Linked DNA regions of Homo sapiens: region 2 is linked to region 1. Evidence: promoter capture Hi-C in 16 types of primary human blood cells and fetal thymus (Javierre and others, 2016). All regions are on one chromosome and are shown on one strand. The core of a region is centred on a gene start or on the middle of the fragment in contact, and the rest is flanking DNA. Distances in the headings are between cores, read along the strand shown. Region 1 holds the start of ACTRT3 (actin related protein T3). Region 2 holds the start of FNDC3B (fibronectin type III domain containing 3B).

Region 1 (7,399 bases), core at 1,803-4,302:
TCTAACTGATCACCAAATCTCCAGGGCCTTCCTCATTCAATTTATTCTCCAAACTATCACATTCATCATAACATAGTTTCCTTATGGCTCCTGCTTTTAAATCTTTAATTTCTCTCCTTTGCATATTGGATATTTAGCACTTTAAGCCTTTCAGTCCCTGGCCTTCACTTAACCTTGCTAGTCATAGCGCTTGTTCTGCTCTATATGAGCTCTTGACTTGAACAAAATCAGTCTAAACTTAGGCGTGGTGGTGCATACCTGTGGATTCAGTTACTTGGGAGGCTGAGGGCAGAGCCCAGGAGTTGGAGGCTGCAGTGAGCTATGATTGCACTACTGCACTCCAGCCTGGGACACAGGGCAAGACTCTGCCTCTAAAACTAAATAAATGAATAAATACATACATAAACAAAAATTTTAAAAACAAAATCAGTCTATTAAACATGCCCTGAATATGCTTTGTTCATTCTCATCTTTAGCAACTTGTTCATTTTAGTATGCTTGCCTGGATATCTGCGCTCCATCCCAATGCCACCCCTTCCATGATGGCATACCTCTGCTATGGAGTCTCGTTCCTCACCACAGCAACCTTCTTTCCCTAAACTTCAATAAGCTTAAATCTTATCACTCATTTGGCACATAGCATATTGTACCACAAATGCTCTCTTCCAAGGGAAATATAAGCTCACCAACGTCAAGTTATAGAAGAAACACTATGGGAAACATTATTTTAACTTGGTTCTACTCAATAGACATCTGTTCTTGAGCTTCACCATTATTATCCCCCAAACCCATTATAGAAATACAACAGAAATATTGGCATCCCAATAGGTGAAGTATTTTCTCTTCTCCCAGAAACATATAATATCCAAAGTTTTCTGTCACATATACTCAAAACATTTTCTTCCAACCATTTTATCTGTATTTCAGAAGCATCTTTGGTGTACTATGTTGGGTCCAACTTCTTTAAATTCTGCAGCAGTGATCCACATGTCCTGGAAGGCAGACAAGGATGCAAGAATAGAACCTCCCATCCACACTGATATTTTCCTTTCTGGAGGAGCTATAACTTGCACAGCGGTGTTGGCAGGAGCCACCTTTGCTATATCCTTAACTAACCGCTTGTCTAAACCAGGGAAAGAGGTTGATCCCCCGGCAAGGATAATATTGGAAAAGAAGGAATTCCTCAGGCCTGTATCACATTTCATTATGCTGCTGAAGCATATCTTATCAATGCCAGGGGCCTCAAGGTTCATATGACACGGAGAGAAGAGGGCCTCTGGACAAGAAAAGAGCTGGTCATGGAGCTGGATGACCTTCCCATCAGGTAGTTGGTAAACTTTCTCTAGACAATCGGGTTTCTTGGCCATTTCCTCTTCGTAGTTCATTGCCACATAACAAAAGCTCTCCTTGATGTCTTCAACAATCTTTCTGTCTGAAGCACTGAGCAACATGATACCATGGTTCTTCATTAGCACCATGAGGTAGTTGGTGAGGTCAAGGCCTGCCAGATCCAGTTGCTGCACACCATGAGGCAGACAGTAACCCTCAAAGATGGGCACACTCTGGGTAACCCCAGCACCTGAATTCAGCACAAGGCCAGTAGTGAAGCCAGCAGCAAAGAGAGCCAGCACAGCCTGGATGGACATATAGAAGGCAGGAACACCCAGATGCTCAAAAAACATTTCCGTGATCTGTTGCCGGTTGGCCAGTGGGTTCAGCGCTGGCTCAGTAATCAAGACTGGGCCATCACACGGCTTCAGCTTTAGGTTATAGTCATAGATATGCTTCCACATGATCTCCATGTCCTCCCATGAAGTAATGAGACCACGCTCCACTGGGTAACTGTAAGGAAAGCAATAAGATCAATGACAGCTTTTTATTTTTCTAGTTTCTATTGTCTTCGACCCTCAGTTAATTCCCCGCGTTTATTACCAATATCCCTTTATGGGCAATAACTGCCACAGCCTCTCACAGCAGGTAAGTGTCAGCCAAAAATAGCACAGCTACTTACCTCTGCAATTTTTTTTTTTTTTTTTGGAGACAGAGTCTCGCTCTGTCACCCAGGCTGGAGTGCAGTGGCGCGATCTCAGCTCACTGCAAGCTCCGCCTCCCGGGTTCACGCCATTCTCCTGCCTCAGTCTCCTGAGTAGCTGGGACTACAGGCGCGCGCCACCACGCCCGGCTAATTTTTTTGTATTTTTAGTAGAGACGGGGTTTCACCGTGTTAGCCACGATGGTCTCGAACTCCTGACCTCGTGATCCGCCCTGCTCGGCCTCCCAAAGTGCTAGGATTACAGGCGTGAGCCACCGCGCCCGGCCTACCTCTGCGATTTTTGTTGCTTTCCATTTTCTCTGTCCTTTGGAACCTTGTGACTTTTAAAAAATTGGGAAATGTCCACATTATAGTATAGTTTAAATGTCAATTGAAGAGAATAACCCAAGTGACAAAAGGGACCATGAGTTAATATTCTTAAATGAATTCGTTCGATAACTTTATACGTTTTAATACATTTGTATAGCCACAGAGAGCAAAATGTTCAGTTTTTAGATGTGTGGTACCCTTGGAGATTTGTGGCCCGTGCGTTTGTAGTAATTCCAGCTGGATGGGGCTTTCCAGCTCCCGGCTTTCTTATTCTTTCTGTCCCCATTGCGCACCTCCTTTGGGGTCCTTTCCTGCCCCCCGACAACACCCCCAGTCCCCCCACCCCCAGCCACCCCAGCCCCACCCCCCAACCTCCCCAGCCCCACCCTACCCCACCCCCACCCCACCCACCCTCCCCAGCCCCAGCAGCCTGCTGGGAGAAGGAGGTACCTGATGAACAGCGAGCTCCTCCAGTCCTGAGCTTGGTCGCCCACGCAGAGTTCTAGCCCGCCCTGGGCCGCGCGGCTCTGGCCCTTGGCGCGGCCGATAATGTTCGGGTAGATAAACTGGGGCTCCCGGCACCCAGCCACGCCCGCCTTGATCATTCCCGAGCCGTTGTCGATCACCACCGGTAGCTGGCAGTGGTTCATGCCGCCGCTGCTGCCGCCGCCTCCTGTCTCTGAGCCGCTCTAGCTACGGGCTCGGCCGGGGCCGAGTGCCTGGAACGCCGCGTCACAGAGGCCCCGGCACGGCCGGGTGAGGCCAGAGTCCTGGGGGCGCAGGCAGGGGGTCGGCAGGGCCCCAGGCGGAAGGACTCGCTGGACGCACCGTGCTCCTCATGTTACCGCCCGCTATTGCTTCTCGCAGGAATTGGGCCACCCCAACACCTGGAATCCCGGAATCCCAGTATCAGGAAAACCCGACTTTCGCATCAAAAGATTCAACTCTAACCCTTCACAAGTGCATTTCTCAAATACCCAGAAGAGCTATAACAGCAGTTTTATTTTCCAAAGCCACGGAATTCTGGTTAACTGGTGGCGGTTCCGGGGAGTTCTAGAATTCGCCCTTGAAACTGGGGAAAAATGAGACTTAAGAGGAGAAAGTTGTTGCAGGAAGGGAGGCAGTGTCTGCTTCTGAAATGTTAAACTTCTAAAATAAGGAGAAAAATGCTGGAATTTAAATGAGTTTTAAGTACGTTTATTATTGTTTCTGTACCTTGGGCAATGCTTTGTTGTGTTTCTTCCTGTGATTTCCAAGCAAAATGTACGCAATTAAAACAAAATAGTAGTTCCTAGCTTAAATATGTAAATAAATATAAATTTATATATATTTATATAAATATATATAAATTTAAATATAAAATATTAAAAAATATATAAATTTATATAATTTATATAAATATATGTTATATTATATAAATATATTTATATATTTATAAAATATATATTTATATATTTAAGCAAGGATATAAATCGAAATATATATATTTATATTTATTATATGTATAAATATAAATATATAAAAATTTATATTTATATTTATTATATGTATAAATATAAATATATAAAAATTTATATTTATATATCATAAATATAAATATATAAAAATTTATATTTATATATCATAAATATAAATATATAAAAATTTATATTTATATATCATAAATATAAATATATAAAAATTTATATTTATATATCATAAATATATAAAAATTTATATTTATATATCATAAATATATAAAAATTTATATTTATATATCATATATAAAAATTTATATTTATATATCATATATAAAAATTTATATTTAGATATCATATATAAAAATTTATATTTAGATATCATATATAAAAATTTATATTTAGATATCATATATAAAAATTTATATTTAGATATCATATATAAAAATTTATATTTAGATATCATATATAAAAATTTATATTTAGATATCATAAATAAAAATTTATATTTAGATATCATAAATAAAAATTTATATTTAGATATCATAAATAAAAATTTATATTTAGATATCATAAATAAAAATTTATATTTAGATATCATAAATAAAAATTTATATTTATATATCATAAATATATAAAAATTTATATTTATATATCATAAATATATAAAAATTTATATTTATATATCATAAATATATAAAAATTTATATTTATATATCATAAATATATAAAAATTTATATTTATATATCATAAATATATAAAAATTTATATTTATATATCATAAATATATAAAAATTTATATTTATATATCATAAATATATAAAAAATTATATTTATATATCATAAATATATAAAAAATTATATTTATATATCATAAATATATAAAAAATTATATTTATATATCATAAATATATAAAAAATTATATTTATATATCATAAATATATAAAAAATTATGTTTATATATAATAAATATATAAAAAATTATGTTTATATATAATAAATATAAAAATTTGTTTATATATAATAAATATAAAAATTTATGTTTATATATAATAAATATATAAAAATTTATGTTTATATATAATAAATATATAAAAATTTGTTTATATATAATAAATATATAAAAATTTATGTTTATATATAATAAATATATAAAAATTTATGTTTATATATAATAAATATATAAAAATTTATATTTATATATAATAAATATAAATATATATATTTCGATTTCTATCCTTCTGGTGTAATCTGCAAGCCTCATTCGCTACTCTTGATTTTTAGGCTGAAGGACGTGCCTGTCTTTTTGCAGGAAAAGTGAAGTTTATCAGGTCATATGAAATTCAAGTTTGGAAAAATTTGAAAGTACATTGCATGTCAATAAACGCATCTTGGTGTCTGATTCTGCATACATCTGTAGAGAATTTGAAAACAAGCAGTCAATTTAGAACTTCTGCTTGGTCTTCGGAAGCAAAAAGAGGAAATTCAAAAGTAATTTTACACGTCCTTCCACCAGAAGCTGAAAGGATGGCTTTTTCGCGGCTGAATAACGAAAGCCCCCTGCTTCGCCCCGGACTCTGAGCAGCTCAACCTGCGGAAAGGATGTGTAATAAAACGCCTTTCCAGGGAGACAAAAAAAAAAAAGGCCACCCAAAGGAAGGGCAACTCGGGAGTGCCTGGTTTCTACTGCGGTACCCGGGCACTTTGGAAGAAAGTGCGTGCAGATTCAAGCTTTTGAAATGGTTTCAGCTCTGTTCAATTGGGCATAGGCTATTTTTCCTTTTCTGTTTTTTTCTTTAAATACATTATATTCATTCCTCTCAATTTGATAATAATCACTTGAGAATTGCGAATTGACACTTACATATCAAGGACTTTACAAAACCCTCTCCAAAGTGGGGTTTCCGTAGTGTAGTGGTTATCACGTTCGCCTAACACGCGAAAGGTCCCCGGTTCGAAACCGGGCGGAAACACACTAAAAAATCCCTTTTTTTTTTTTTTTTTTTTTCCTTCGCTTGGAAGAAAGCGTGAGATCACGCTTTGTTTTCTTTTGTTGTTTGTTTTGTTTTTTTTTCTGAGGGAAGCCTTAGCTTAATGTATGCCGGTCCTTCAAAAGACATGATAGCAATTTGAGAGTCTGAACTGTAAGTTTTTGTTACTTTATTCGTTCACCAAATGTTTTTATGGAAGCCTTGCCACGTGGAACATGTGTCCCGGGTTTTAAAAAATGAATTTGACTCACCAGCTAACACTGAAAAAATAATGTACAGCCTAGAAGGAAAGATCAAAGTGTAAAAGTGGTTAGTCCTGTCGCCTCCTGAGCATTTTTGTATTATATCACTTGGTTTTTCGTCTGAAGTGGCTGTAAATAATCGTATTAAAAATCTTCTGGTCCAGACGCAGGAAAACCTTTTCCGGTATAAAGCCCACCTTCCTCTAATGTTGCGCATGCCCACTGTGCCCAGCTGCTCCGCTTTCGTGCATCCCAGACTTCTGTCACCAGGTAAGGGCATCTTGGAAGCTGAGCTACAGTTGGCTGGGGCACAAAAAAACCAGGGGGTGCCAAGAGTTTTCAGGTACGTAAGCGGGAAAGGGGTGCCAAGTCTCAGCTAAAAAATCCCCTATGGCAGAGATCCGAGTACACATGCAGCAGTTTCCACCGGTGGGGCCCCGAGGAAGGGGAGGATGATGGGAGAAGACAAGCAACTACAAGCCCCCGCACGCAGTGCGCAGCTGGCTTCAGGAGAGAGGCCCGCGGTGCTGTGCTGCCGGGCCTCGGCGCAGAGCCCCGGCAGAGCGCCAGACGCTGACTGCCGGCACCAGAATGCTCGCGATGAGGAAGACAGGCGGAGCGCTGCGAGCTAGCGAGCCCTCAGCTCTCGTATCCATGACGCCTGCTGCTTCGGGGGACCCCTGGCATGCTGGGGAGTGGGTCTCTGTGGTACATCCTGTACCGCCCTGGCCGGCGCCGGACCCCCATGGCCCCAGAACCTCCCGCACTGCCACGGGAAGACAGAGCCGGACGTGACGCCACCGTGGAAGGAAGGGAGGGGCGGAGCGTGGCTCGGTGACGTCCTCCCAAGATGGCGGAGACAGAGTGAAGAAACTGTGTTCCCCCCTTGGGTTGCTATCGGTGAGTTCCTACTTCACCCCCAGCCCGCCATCCCGGTCTCTCTAGAGCCTGGGCCATCAGAGGGCAGGCTCCTTGGAGTTCCAGCACGGGTCGGGGCGCAGGTGGAAGGCTTGGGCTAGGCAGCCCCGGGGTGGCCTGGGCCACAACCTCTGCTGTGGAAATTCGCGGGAGTGGGAGCTGGGCAGAGGGCAGGGCGGCAGAAGCCGAGGAGGGACTGGCTTTGGTTGTCACTCTCGGATGCCGCCTCGCGTAGAGAGTGGGAAGGGAGAAGGTGTGGCCTCCTTAGCGCGAGTGATAGAACCTTTGACAGCAAGCCATGGCCGGGCGCATTCCCGGCTTTCTGGGCAGCCACCTCTCGTTTTGGAGAAACTGCACTGGGGAAACTAACAGGTTTTGGTGACTTGAGAGCAGTTTTTAAAAACTCGTACTGTTCTGCCCCTATCTG
Region 2 (7,399 bases), core at 3,484-5,983, 2.3 Mb after region 1:
CATGGCAGAAGGTAAAGCAGGAGCAGGCGTCCTACACGGCTGAAGCAGGACCTAGAGAGAGGGGGAAGGTGCAACCAGATCTCCTGAGAATTCACTCACTATGCAGTACCAAGGGGGGACGGTGCTAAACCATTCATGAGAACTCCGCCCCCATGAGCCAATCACCTCCTACCAGGACCCACCTCCAGCACTGGGGATTACATTTCAACATGAGATTTGGGTGGGGACACAGATCCAAACCATATCACAAACTTTCAGAGATGCTGAACAGGTAGGCCCTCAGAGGTGGTAGGAAAGAAGGATGAAGAGAGATCTTTGACGAGTTCGGCATGTCAGGGACGTTTATTCAGGAAAAGAGAATCTCTAGGGAGCAAATGCCAGGCATGTTCAGTTCATTGGAAGGGAGGTCATGTGGAAGGTGAGTGTTGTTATTTTGTCTGCCTCCAGAGGGCAGAAATAAAACCAGTGGGAGAAAGTTGTAAGGAGGCAGTTTCAGAAGACCTGGGTTAGAACTACAGTTGTTGATAATAAGCTGTCTCCACAGGAATAGGTTTTCCTTTCCCTGGTGCTGTTCAGACTGAGGCTGGGTCCTTAGTTGTAATTGACATGGGAGCCAAGATTTCTGCTTTGGGAGGGACAGTGGGAGTCTATCAACCTGTGATTTTTAAGAGCCCTGTCAATCATTCAGCTTCTACCTGAATAGTTCTGGTAACTGTGGGACAGATCTCTTTGTTTAAAATGTGTTTTTCTTTAAATAAAACATTGAGCTAAAATTTGCTTATCTTGCCTTGAACAATAGAAAAGGCGGCAAAACCACAGATGTGACTGGTGAAGTTGTTGGAGAAATGTGCTTCACTGAAGTGGCAGTGTTGCTTTTAAAACAAGATGAATTGGCTTTTGGTCAGTGTTCATATTGAAGCTGGTGTCAGATATGGCTCAGGACATTAGAATAAGTAGTAGATGCAAAGAGTTAATGCCTTCTATTTAGGGTCAAGAGTATTATTATTATTATTATTATTTTTGAGATGGAAGTTTGCTCTTGTTGCCCAGGCTGGAGTGCAATGGTGCCATCTCAGCTCACTGCAACCTCTGCCTCCTGGGCTCAAATGATTCTCCTGCCTCAGCCTCCCAAATAGCTGGGATTACAGGTGTCTGCCATCATACCAGGCTAATTTTTGTATTTTTTTTTTTTTTTAAGTAGAGATTGTGTTTCACCATGCTGGCCAGGCTAATCTCGAACTCCTGACCTCAGGTGATCCGCCTGCCTCAGCCTCCCAAAGTGCTGAGATTACAGGCATGAGCCACCATGCCTGGTGGTCAAGAGCAGTTTTTAAGAGTAGGGGCAGAACTGAGCCTGCCTTGGGAACCTAGCAACTCGAGCTATAGGGAGAAGAAGGACATTGAAACTGAGAATGCAGCTGGGTCTTGTAGATATTACGTGTTACTAGTCATAGTGATCTTTGAGAGAGAGTTTCAAATTTAAACATTTTAGACTACAGAAGTGTTCAGAAAAGTTGAATTGTTTGAGACCTTTTCAATGCTAGCTTCAATACTTTCATTCTTTCCTGTGTACTACTGTTGCATTTTTTGATATAAATTATTTGAGATGAAGAAGTATGACTAAGAATCTTTTTAAAATTTGGACTCAGCCTACATTGCATAGGTGGTAGAAGGGTTTAAGAGTCTCTATATTTTGTTATAGGCCTTAACTTCTAGGCATCTTCATTTGGATGTTAACTTTTGTATTTGAGCAAATCTTAAGGTGCTTTTGGAGCAAAGTTTTAGCCAGGACTATAGTTTCATAATTTGGGACCTAGAGCAGCAGATTATGCAGGTTGTCAACACCAGATAGTCATACTCATTGCCTTAGGTTGAGGTCCTTCTTCCTATTCCCAGAACCATGACTCTGGTGTAAGTCTTATCATTTCCAAAGTAGGTTCAGGGCATGCATCTCTGACATGAGCCTTGTTCTATATCCTGCTGCTAAGATAACCTTGAAACCTATTTTAATTACTTCATGCCTCAATAATCCCACAGTGTTCTCACTGTATTAAATCTAAATCCCTCAAAGTATAGGTGAGAGCCCTCTATCACAAATTCCACCTTTTTCTCTGAAGCTTCCAATTCTGTCCTATTAATCCTTTTAAGAAATATATCTTTATTAATTCATTTACTCATTCATTCATTCATTCATTCATTCAAGGAGTAACCAATATTTATTTACTGAGTACCAGGTGCTTGAGTTTTTTAATCCTCACAACAACCTTGACCAGAAGGTTTATTAAAGATCACAATTTAACAAATAAGAAAATTCAGGTTCAGAGAACTTTATGCCCAACATCACTCCTTTTCTCTCATTATGTTCTATGCTCTCTCCAGTGTACCATACTTCCTCTCATTTTGCAAACATTTAATGGGCTTTTTTTCTGTGCCAAAACTGGTGTTAGGTGTTAGGGCAAAGAAGATGAATGAAACACTGAGATCATATATATGAACATGCATGTGAAATTATAAAGCATTATATGAAAATTGAAACTTTTTCTTCTTAATAAGAAAAAATTCAGTCTAGTGGAAGAAACAGGAATAAATAACTTTGTCCTCCAAACTTCCCTTGCCTACTTTTACCTCCTTTGCCAAGCTTGTCCTTCAACCTGAATTTGACCTTTCACATTCTGAAGTTTGCTCACTTACCTAGTCATTCAGATTCTTCCACATACTTTACAATTAATTCATTCACCAAACACAAAGGGGTCTTATATTCAAAGCAGAATTCTAGGTTGATACTAGGGATACAAACATGAACAAAACTCAGTCAAGTGGAAGAGATAAAGTATAACTAACTTCAGGCTGGGCACAGTGGCTCATGCCTATAACCCCAGCACTTTGGGAGCTGGGGCAGGAGGATTGCTTGAGCTCAGGAGTCTGAGACCAGCCTGGGCAACAAAAATGAAAAAAAAAAAAGAAACATTAAAAAAAAATTAGCCAGGCGTGATGGCACACACTAGTAGTCCCAGCTACTTGGGAGGCTGAGGTGGGAGACTCGCTTGAGCCTAGGAGCTTGAAGACGCAGTGAGCTACGATCATGCTACTGCACTCTAGCCTCAGAAAAAAAAAAAAAAAAAAAAGACTAACTTCAGAGCAATGTGAGAACTGACAAGGATTATAAGATTGTGGGGAAAAGAGGTATGAGACTGTAGGGAGGAAAGGAGGGAGTGGTTTTAGCCGGAGATCAAGGATGAGTAAATGATCTTAAATAGGGAAGAAGAAGTATGTTTCAGAGGGAAGGCACGTACAAAGGGACACAGGTACCTTCTGGAGCCATGAGTGATCAGCTGGGCTGAAGGCATGGCACCTGAGGAAGCCAAAGAGTCTGGAGCCAGAGAAGGCATTTGGACTCAAATGGGATCTATTGGATTGTACCCTATTGGCACTAAGGAACTACTGCCTACCCCCCGCCCCGGCTTCTCATGCAGGACTATGACCTAGAATTGGAGTTATGTTATAGAAAGATGGCTTCAAGTTCCCCTTTGAGGAGCTCCACAGTAAATAAGCCATTTAGGAGAGAGGTCCCCATTTCTCTGGACTCACCATTGCCTCCAAAAAAAAAAAAAAAAGGCTAAAATCTCCCCAAAAGAATGGCAAATGAACAAGGGAAGGAAGGAGCTATTTCTTAGTGTTCTTTAGACTTTAACAGAGTATTATGTACTGCTATTATTATTTTTTAGGTTAACAAAAGTAATACATTGTCTCTAGTGACTCCCTGAATGCTCCTTTGTAGCTTAATAGTTGAGGCTGAATGTAGCTATTCAGAATACCTGGACAGCTATGGATGGAAGGGGCTTCTCTAGGCTAACTTTTGCTCTCTTGTCTCCTGAATAATCTGAGGGGTGGCATGGGATGCAGTCTGTTAACCTCTTAGAGCCTGTACAACAGAAATACATTACATTTGACTTAATATGAACTCAACAGTTATTTAATGAGTCCTATTGTGGTCCTTGCACTGTGCTATATTTTACGGATATAAAGATAAAAGTAAGAAACAGTCTTTGTCCCTGAGAAACGCATTGTGAAATAAGGCTGGGTGAGTTGGCTCACGCCTGTAATCTCAACACTTTGGGAGGCCAAGGCGGGAGAATCACTTGAGCGACAGAGTTCCAGACCAGCCTGGGCAACCTATTGAGACCCCCTCTCTTCCAAAAAAGGAAAAAAAAAAAAAAAAAAAAAGGGTGCGGTGGCTCATGCCTGCCCCGTGCCTGCAGTCCCCAAAACAAACAACAACAACAACAAAAAACAAAAAACAAAAAGAAAGAGGAAAGAGAGATTTTAACTTAAGTATAATAAAAATTGCTCATACTATGTTAGTTGTATGAATAAAATGCTGTGGGAAATGTGGGAGTAATATAGCTCACAAGGTTGCTGTGGGGGTTAACAACAACAAAAAGCGAAATATATGTGTAAATGAAAAAAAGTCAGTTTTAGGCTTAATTATCACTGAGTAAACATTGCCTTTATATTACTTTGGCGATCTGCAGAACGCGCAGCCCTCGCCATTCAGGAGTTGTTAGTTCCCTAAGCCTCAGGTTTCTTTAGTCTGGCTGAACCAAAAGGAGTTTCTGCTTAGCTAGGCAGGGCCGGGGGACAACAGCTTCTGCGAGTCTGCGATTGTGGCGGCCGGTATATTCGGCGGTTTACGGTAATGGGCGGGCCCCAAATCCCCATGTGGTCCCGACATCATTGACATGGCGGAATCCCCCATCAAACCCTCCTGGTAGTTATTTGAGCGGCGGCGGCGGCGGCTGGAGGAGGAGAGCGGCGGCGGCGGGAGCAGCGAAGGGGGCGGCAGGGATCCTCCAGGCTGCCGGCTGGGAAGGCGTGGGCGACCCGGTGTGTGGCGCGCCCAGAGCCCCGCGTTTCAGCCCTAGGGAAGGTAAGGCGTGCAAGAGCCGGGGACTAGAGGAGACCGGGACCCCGAGCGCGATCGCCGGGTCCCGGTGCACTGGAAAGCCCCGGCCTGACGCCGAGTCCGCCAAAGTGCGTCCCTGTCCCGGGAGCGCCCTGGGCTTCCCGGCAAAAACTTGGCGCCGGAGTGCTGGGGCGCCCCGTGCTCGCCTGGGCACCCCGGGAACACGGGACCCGGGAGGGGGCGGCCCCCGCCTTGCTGGGCTGGGGTCCCCCGCCTGTGCCCCCTGCCTCAGGGTTTGGAGGAGTGAAAGAAACGGGTAGATTCCTCTTAAAAAAAATTGGGCAGTGGCTCGCGGCCTCCCCCCACCCCCAGCCTTCCCAGCAGATTTTGTCCGAGGAATCCGCTCCCCCTCCCGGAATCTCCGCGGCAGGAACGCTGCCCAGGAGGGGGAGGGCGGGCGGCGAGGCCGAGGAATCTTCGACGTGTCACTTTCTGAGGCTGTAGATTTCCATATGGTGGAGGGAAGAGGGCGGGAGTGCGAAGTGGGGCTGGAAGTTGGGGCCGCCTCTCCGCGCCGGCGGGGGCGGTCGGGGGCCTCGAACCCGGGGATGCTCGCGGGGAGGGTCCCGAGCCCGCGCCGGCCTGGCCCCCCCGTCCCCGGCTGGGCCTCTCCGGGACACTCCCCGCCCCGCTGCTGGCCACCTCCGAGCACGCCACGTCCTCCTCCCCGTCCTGCCCCCCGGGCTCCCCCCGGGCTGGGGGCGGTAACCGGCGGCCGCGGCCGGACTTGGCGAGCCGGCGGCTGGAAGCTCGGGCGGGGGAGCGGGGCGCGGCGGGAAGGAGCGGGCGACCCGGTGTGTGGGCCAGCGGAGCTCCGGTCAGTCGGTCACCCCGAGGGGCGCCTCGGCCGGGGATAGGGCGGGCGGGCGGAATCTGCGCCCCGAGGCGGCCAGGAGGGGCCGCGCGGACCGTCTGGTGCCCGCGGCTGGGCTGGGGCCGGCAGGCGTGGGAAGGGCCTGTCACTCTCGGCAGAAAGTGGGGCCTCGGGCTGTGCCCGCGAACTTTCCCAGAGGTCCGGGTCCCGGCGTCCCGTGGGAACCGGAGGACCCGGGCCCGCCGTCTCGGGAGACTGGGCTGCGCCGCCCGGCGGCGCCTTTGGCGGGGAGGCTTCCAGGAGTGCGCGGTCGGAGTTGGAGCTTTTGGAATCTCAGCTCCCACCCTGCCATCCCAGACGAAGGGAAGCAATGGCATTTTATCCAGACAGTGCCGTTTGCAGACTTCCTTAAAAGTTATAACTTTTTGTTTTCTTTTCTCCTCAACCCAGCATTTTATTTAAACAAAATTTAGAATTTGGCCGCAATGGGCCAACGCTGGGGCCAAAAATCCACAGGTTTCTCTCTCCATCCCTGCTGGTTTCTAGTCCCCCCTCCCCCTCTTCCCTCCCAGGCTTAATCATATTTTGGAACGGGTGAGGTCTTTTGTTGGGTGGGCACCCCCTGATTGCTTGTCTGTTTATTTTTTAATGTGCAACTAATTTGATTTGAATTTCCTTCAGTTTCCAGGCCTTCCTAGGGAAAGCTAAGGGAGAGGGAATATGCTTTTTAAAAATCGTTTTCTTTCTTTCTTTCTTTCTTTCTTTTTCTTTCTTTCTTTCTCCTTCTCTCTCCTTCCTTCCTTCCTTCCTTCCTTCCTTCCTTCCTTCCTTCTCTTCTCCTCCTCCTCCTTCTTGTTCTTGTTCTTCTTCTTTTTTTTTTTTTTAAATAAATGTGGCAGGAGGTGGGGCGTTGGGAATGGGGAGGCACGGTGGTTGTGGGCAAAGAGTCAGAAGGAGCAGACAGACCCGGAAGAAAAGGAATCTGCTCTGGAATAACACTTTTTTTTTGAGGCCTCAGGCCTTGGGCAAAATTGCTTCGCTCTGTAATGATTTCTGCTGCCGGAGTTGCTCCTCCACCCCTAAGTTAAAGCTATGAACCTGGGTGCCCGGGCAACGCCCCACAGTGGATAGCAGCCGGGAGCGCTGGTTTTGTGCCTTTTGTGGGGGCCCTTGGTTCCCCCTCATTGGAGGCTGACTCTGAAATTTACTGGATCAGTAAATTTCCTGGCTCCCTGGGAGCAGCTGTTAACGAGGATAAAGTCTCTGGGCATGTTTCTGGCCCTGCAAAAGGACCTCACCCATGAAGGTACAATTCTCACTTTGTTTAGATACCAGAGGGGCACCCACAGGCTGGCTGAGAATGAGGCATAGTTGATTAAAAAAAAAATCAGTCATTACAAAATTGTTTTTAAACTCACACGTGCTTTTAAAGTGTTGTGGTTTAAATTACTTTAAGATAAAAAAAATTCATCTGTAAGGATAGCGTTCATTTAAAAGATGCTAAAACTGCAGGATCTCATCATGAAATAGGAGGTTGTAGCTTCTAATTACAGTATATACAATTTCAGAAAGATATTCCGGTAATCTTTTAATACAGACTTTATAAATAGCTCACATCAGAC

What was found. The method cuts DNA at HindIII sites, captures the fragments that hold promoters and counts their contacts. A CHiCAGO score of 5 or more calls a contact.
Region 2: a contact is called between the fragment with the promoter of FNDC3B here and the fragment with the promoter of ACTRT3 in region 1, in 1 of 17 cell types (non-activated CD4 T cells). The highest score is 7.5, in non-activated CD4 T cells.

What each region holds. Positions count from the first base shown.
Region 1 is chr3:169,766,509-169,773,907 of GRCh38, forward strand. ACTRT3 (actin related protein T3) reads right to left here and starts at 3,053. Exons shown (of 2, transcript NM_032487.5): 1 at 2,813-3,053; 2 at 413-1,842. The coding sequence starts at 3,012. The coding sequence ends at 924. It overlaps MYNN (myoneurin), which reads left to right and starts at 6,888. Exons shown (of 8, transcript NM_018657.5): 1 at 6,888-6,954. TRV-AAC1-1 (tRNA-Val (anticodon AAC) 1-1) reads left to right here and starts at 5,722; the gene lies at 5,722-5,794. RefSeq lists enhancers at 1,776-1,920, 2,782-3,041, 3,133-3,277, 5,438-5,537, 6,428-6,977 and 2 more, cis regulatory regions at 1,848, 3,205 and a silencer at 3,122-3,191. The HindIII fragment of the contact is 4,942 bases long and covers 609-5,550 here.
Region 2 is chr3:172,034,845-172,042,243 of GRCh38, forward strand. It overlaps FNDC3B (fibronectin type III domain containing 3B), which reads left to right and starts at 4,734. Exons shown (of 26, transcript NM_022763.4): 1 at 4,734-4,927. RefSeq lists enhancers at 1,431-1,490, 4,554-5,221, 5,222-5,888 and silencers at 4,807-4,986, 5,127-5,226, 5,407-5,656, 5,717-6,086. The HindIII fragment of the contact is 7,479 bases long and covers 2,637-7,399 here.